2 separate regions of the Homo sapiens genome follow, and region 2 is linked to region 1. The links are contacts of gene promoters, found by promoter capture Hi-C in blood cells and fetal thymus (Javierre and others, 2016). All regions are on one chromosome and are shown on one strand. Each heading gives the region's core, a stretch centred on a gene start or on the middle of the fragment in contact. The rest is flanking DNA. Distances are from core to core; before and after follow the strand shown.

What was found. Contacts are between HindIII fragments. The CHiCAGO score rates a contact against its expected background, and 5 or more counts as called.
Region 2: a fragment that was not itself captured here is called in contact with the fragment with the promoter of ETV6 in region 1 in 2 of 17 cell types (total CD4 T cells and total CD8 T cells); the score reaches 5.7 in total CD4 T cells.

The regions. Positions count from the first base shown.
Region 1 is chr12:11,648,175-11,651,035 of GRCh38, forward strand. It overlaps ETV6 (ETS variant transcription factor 6), which reads left to right and starts at 1,500. Exons shown (of 8, transcript NM_001987.5): 1 at 1,500-1,986. The coding sequence starts at 1,954. RefSeq lists an enhancer at 403-502 and silencers at 683-922, 1,213-1,422, 1,633-1,682, 1,693-1,852. The HindIII fragment of the contact is 9,207 bases long and covers 1-2,861 here.
Region 2 is chr12:12,325,153-12,327,920 of GRCh38, forward strand. It overlaps MANSC1 (MANSC domain containing 1), which reads right to left. Exons shown (of 4, transcript NM_018050.4): 4 at 904-2,768. Among named protein-coding and RNA genes, the nearest start is that of MANSC1, 24 kb to the right of the region's middle. RefSeq lists an enhancer at 155-655. The HindIII fragment of the contact is 2,222 bases long and covers 359-2,580 here.

The DNA of each region.
Region 1 (2,861 bases), core at 250-2,749:
CACAACCACCAGTTCCCATCATCCCAGCAACAGCACTCTTTCCCACCCTAGCCTCGTTCGTAATGATCTGATCAATGTGTGAACAAAAATATTGTGTGTACAAGTCTCAACACATTTGATAATGTGAAGAGGTGAAGGAAAGTGGGTAGGAAAAATCTGTAGGGTGGGGAGACTCGGGGAAATGTGTCCTGGTCCAGTGCAGGTAACATATATGGGTATATATGCGTATATACATATTTATACCATATTTAATATATTACTCTATTAAGAAATTATAACAAATTTCCTTTTACATTACACATCCACATATTAAACCCCCAATATGTGCTAACAAGGTTAGAATTTAAGTATAATGATAATGTTCTCAGTTTTTTGTGGTGGACACTTTAAGAGAGTGTAAATAATAATAAAAATAATAGAGTGATCAGATCACTTGTGCTCAGGGCTAGACCCTTCAGCCCCAACGGCCTTAACCCCCCTCAACTGCTTTTCCAACCAAATATTCCTCCCCCTGCAGGATCCCAGGGCCATCCAATCAACCGGCCAATGACGGTTTCAGAGAAGCGGTCCTGGGGAGGGGTATTATCTGCAGGAACACGTCCTGCCAACTTTGTAGTCGAGTCACCTATTTCGGTTGGTAGCGGCCGCTATTTCTTTAAAAGGGCAGTGGATTTCGAAACAGGAGGGGGAGGTCAGGAAAAGGAACTCAGCTGCCTTTGATAACTGCCCTGCAGCCTTCCCTTCCCGGAGCGCGTGCTCGGCTCGGGAAGCGCCCGCGGCCGCCGCATCCCCGAGCGGGCGCGTGGCGCCACCTCTTTCCGGGGCGCCCACCTTCCCCGGGAATCCCCCCGCCCGACGGTCCCCCAGCGTCTGCGGCGCGGCCGCCCCGGCTTTGTCTCCGGCGTCGCGCTCGGGCGCCCGCTCTCCCCACATTTCCCCGTGTGCAGGCTGTAACCCGATCTCCCATTTCCTGGTGGATTCTCTTAAAGAGGCAGCGGTCGAGAAGCAGAACAAAGGCTATTGTTTTATTTCCTCCTTCGGATTCCGCGTCCTAACCGGAATGGCCCTTCATAGATAATTACTTTCGTTGCATCTGCGCTTAGTGAAACGTTTCAAAACCCTTGTGCACATCGATGTATCCAAGAGACGGAGCCAGGGGAGGTGGGAGGAGTTTAATAAAACCTGTTTTGTGGTGTCTGGGGCCACAATGTAACGTTTTTTAAAGGTGTCTTCCTTAAGCCCGGAAATTGGCTCGGCCAGCGGGAGGTCTCGCGGCGTGGAGGGCGGGCGCCCGCACCGGGGGCCGGCCTGGGGGGCTGCGCCGCTCGCCCCGCTCGCAGCCGCGGCCCCACGCGGCCCCGCTACCCGGGTTTCCTCCGCCCGCGCCCCCGCGGCCGCCCCTCCCCCGCGCAGCTTTTATTTCCCCGATGCCGGGCTGTAACCCGAGCTTTTATTTCCTGGTGGCTCCTTTAAGAGGCAGAGCTCAGTGCTGGGAATTCACGTCAGTTTCTGCACTGAAACTCTCAAGATCAATGAGCAAAGAGCTTTCTCAGTTCTGCCTTTCAGTTTCTCTCTTCCAGGAAGGAAAACATTCGAGAGAGCGAGGGAGAGCCGCGGGAGGGCGGGGGGCGGGGGCGCCGGCTGCGGGTGGGAGGAGAGACCGGGAGGCCGGCCGGGCTGCGTCCCGGGTCCCCGCGCCGCGCCGCGACCTGCAGACCCCGCCGCCGCGCTCGGGCCCGTCTCCCACGCCCCCGCCGCCCCGCGCGCCCAACTCCGCCGGCCGCCCCGCCCCGCCCCGCGCGCTCCAGACCCCCGGGGCGGCTGCCGGGAGAGATGCTGGAAGAAACTTCTTAAATGACCGCGTCTGGCTGGCCGTGGAGCCTTTCTGGGTTGGGGAGAGGAAAGGAAAGTGGAAAAAACCTGAGAACTTCCTGATCTCTCTCGCTGTGAGACATGTCTGAGACTCCTGCTCAGTGTAGCATTAAGGTAAAAATCTTCTCCCCTCCTTCTACGTGGTGGAAACCCTGAGCTGCACCGGCCAGGGCAGTCGTGCTGGGCTCCTCAGAGCAGGCTGTTGCAGTTGCTCTGTTCGCAGGAAATTATTTGGGGCGAGAGGGAAAGAGATGCAGCTCGCGGTGGCTGCTGTACCCTTTAGCGTAACCTTGCTACTCCCCCCCACCGCCGAGCCCCTGCCGGCTCCTCGGCCCCCACCCCCTTGCTTTTTGACAATGAAATGCCGGTCACAATTGGTCAGAGCAACCCGGATTGTCTCCAGAACCGTAAAACACCCCCGTAATTAGTGCGCTTAAAAAAAAAAAAAACAAAAAACAAAAAAAAAAAACCTGCTCCCTATTCCTACACCCAACATGTGACTGAAATATAACTTTTGTTCCCGAGGGGTGGTCGTCTTAGAAAAAAAGTTGTTCAGTTTCCACTGCGATAGAATCTTTTTATTTTTTTAAAGGACTCTCTGGGTCTGATCAGACAGGATTTTTTTCCCCCTCGTCTGATTGTAATTGCAAGCGCTGTCGGAGAGACAGTCCTGGTGTCAGCTTTTCCTAGGCATTGCACAATGAATTTTTTTTTAAAACCAAGGTGAATAAAGTTGCTGAATAGTTATTTTACTCCGATCCATATGAAAGTTGAGCAATCCCAAAGTAGAAAACTCCTGTGATGGAGGGAGAGGAAGAACTAAGCAACCAGGCAAAATGACCTTCTGTGTTTGACAGTGCAGAGAGGCTATCTAAGCAGCACTCTGTAAATGCAGGGCGGTAGATGTTTGTAAACACACTGCTGGGCTACCCAGTAGTTGTGTGTATGCATGTCTATATATCTGTAAAGACTGTGGTGCTGCGGTTTGT
Region 2 (2,768 bases), core at 220-2,719, 680 kb after region 1:
AAGAGAAAACTCTGTCTCTAAATAAATAAATAAAAATAAAAGCTATTTAGGGCCAGGCATGGTGGCTCATGCCTGTAATCCCAGCACTTCAGAAGGCTGAAATGGGCAGATTGCTTGAGTCCAGGGGTTTGAGACCAGCCTGGCCAACATGGCAAAACCCTGTATCTACAAAAATACAAAAATTAGCTGGGCGTGGTGGCACATGCCTGTAGTCCCAGCTACTTGGGGGGCTGAGGCAGGAGGATTACTTGAGCCCGAGAGTTGGAGGCTGCAGTAAGCTGTGTTTGCGCCACTACACTCCAGCCTGGGTGACAAAGCAAAATTGTCTCAAACAACAACAACAAAAACAACAACAAAAAGCTTTCTAGAACATTTCCAATCTAGTGCAAACCTCTTTTTGGTTACACCGTGTATCATTCCAGTTATAAGAATGTAAAAAGTGGCAACTCCGGAGCCAGGCTATCTGGGCAAGTGACCTCTGGAAAGGCCCTTAAACTTCGCTGTGTCTCAGTTTCCTTATCTACAGAATAAGGATTAAAATTATTCAAAAGGTTGTTGTGGAATTGAAATGAGTTAGTATATGTAAAAGTGAATCTGGCGCATAGTGTAAGTACTTTCTTTTGTGGAGTCTTGCTCTGTCGCTCAGGCTGGAGTGCAGGGGTGCAATCTTGGCTCACTACAAACTCTGCCCCCGCCACGCCCAGCTAATTTTTGTATTTTTAGTAGAGATGGGGTTTCGTCATGTTGGCCAGGCTGGTTTCGAACTCCTGACCTCAGGTGATCCACCCGCCTCGGCCTCCCAAAGTGCTGGGATTACAGGCGTGAGCCACTGTGCCCGGCCCATAGTGTAAGTACTTTCTAAGTGTTTGCTATCAATAAGTAATAAATCATAGAATACTCGACTGAAAGTGGTACAAATATTAGAGATTTATTATTACAGAACAAGATGGAAGTTGGCAGTTCCAGGGTTTGTCCTGTCAATTAACCAAGGCATCCCGGAGACTGGACTCTTCCTGTACCCACTGCCACGCTCAGTGTGGCAGTGCCTTCTCCCCTCATCATGGCAGGGAGGCCACCACAGCTCCAACAACCAAGTCTTCACATGGTCAGCATCCCAAGCATGAAATAAGGGGATGTGGTTAGAAAGGGCTTTTCTCCTTGTGCAGCCTTCCCTTTACAAGCAAGAAAATCTCTCCTAGAAGTCCCTAGTAGGTTTCCTTTCAGCTAAAACTTGGGTCACAGGCCCATCCCTGAACCTGGCACTTCCAACCTGTAACAAATGAGGCAGAAGTGGGACTAGGGCTGGCTGCTGGGCAGCTGACCGGTAGTGCCCACCACAGTCTGGGAGCCAAAGAGTTCCAAAAGTTCCTCACTCAGGCCAGGGGTAATTGAGAAACAGGCACATAACAGTATTCATCCAGGAGTCCTCAGGTTTTTTAAGAGTTTTTTAGTTTTTTTTTTGTTGTTGTTGTTTTGTTTTTTTTTTTGAGATGGGCTCTCGTTCTGTCGCCCAGGCTGGAGTGCAGTGGCGTGATCATGGCTCACTGCAGCCTCGACCTCCTGGGCTCAAGTGATCCTCCCACCTCAGTCTCCCAAAGGGCTGAGATTACAGATGTGAGCCACTATGTGCCTGGCTAAGAGTAGCTTATTTTTATTTTATTTTATTTTATTTTTTTGAGATAGAGTCTTGCTCTGTCGCCTAGGCTGGAGTGCAATGGAGCGATCTTGGCTCACTGCAACCGCCCCCTCCCGGCCTCAAGCAATTATCCTACCTCAGCCTCCCAAGTAGCTGGGATTACAGGTGTCTGCCACCATGCCTGGCTAATTTTTGTATTTCTGTAGAGATGGGGTTTCACCATGTTGGCCAGGCTGGTCTAGAACTCCTGACCTCAGGTGATCCACCCACCTTGGACTCCCAAAGTGCTGGGATTACAGGCGTGAGCCACCACGCCTGGCCAAGAGTAGCTTTTTAACCTAGGTCAGTATCGTGTTGGTAAAATACGGAGAGAGGATGTTTGAGCAGAAGGACCTACCTCATCTTCTCACCTGTTCTAGGCTGCTACCTTCTCTTTCTACAAACCAAAGGAGGGGGCTCATAACTCAATGGGCCTTGTGGGAAAGGCTAACCAGACTAGTCACTGCTGAATTCCTCTAAGGGATTCCCCTACCCTGACTGCCCTTGCCACAGTTGCACCCACCATCCTAGGGGCAGTAAGTAGAGAGAGCTGTGTGAGAAGAGCACTCTTTCCACTCCAGATGTCCCCTACAACCTATATCCTCACGGCCACTAACAGTTTGGGCCCGTAGCATCACTCATCTGGACCGCTCCCATGTGGTCTCCCCATCACAACAAAGACTGCAGCAAGGTGGACAGAGAACTCCAAGAGAGCCAGGAAAATACCTTTATAAACCATCACAGAAAGCCTGATTTCCACTCGCTAAATCCATTAATAAAGAGAGGAGAAATTTTAAAATTCCAAGGCACCTGGTTACTAATCTGATTCTGGCCTACATGTGGATATTCAATAAATACTTGTTAAGTTAAATTGACTCAAGGTTTTATTTATTCAGCCTACTTAAAGCTTATGTAAACCCCTTGGAGATTTGTGTCAAGCTGTTAAGTTGGAAAATATAAGAAAAGTAGTATTTTCAATAGACCAGCTTTCCTCTTAATGTACTTTATGAACTTAGTGTAAACCAGGGAAATGGGGGAGGGGTACCAGAAGAGCAGAGGGGAAGGAGGTGAGGAGGAAGGAAGAGGTGAGGAG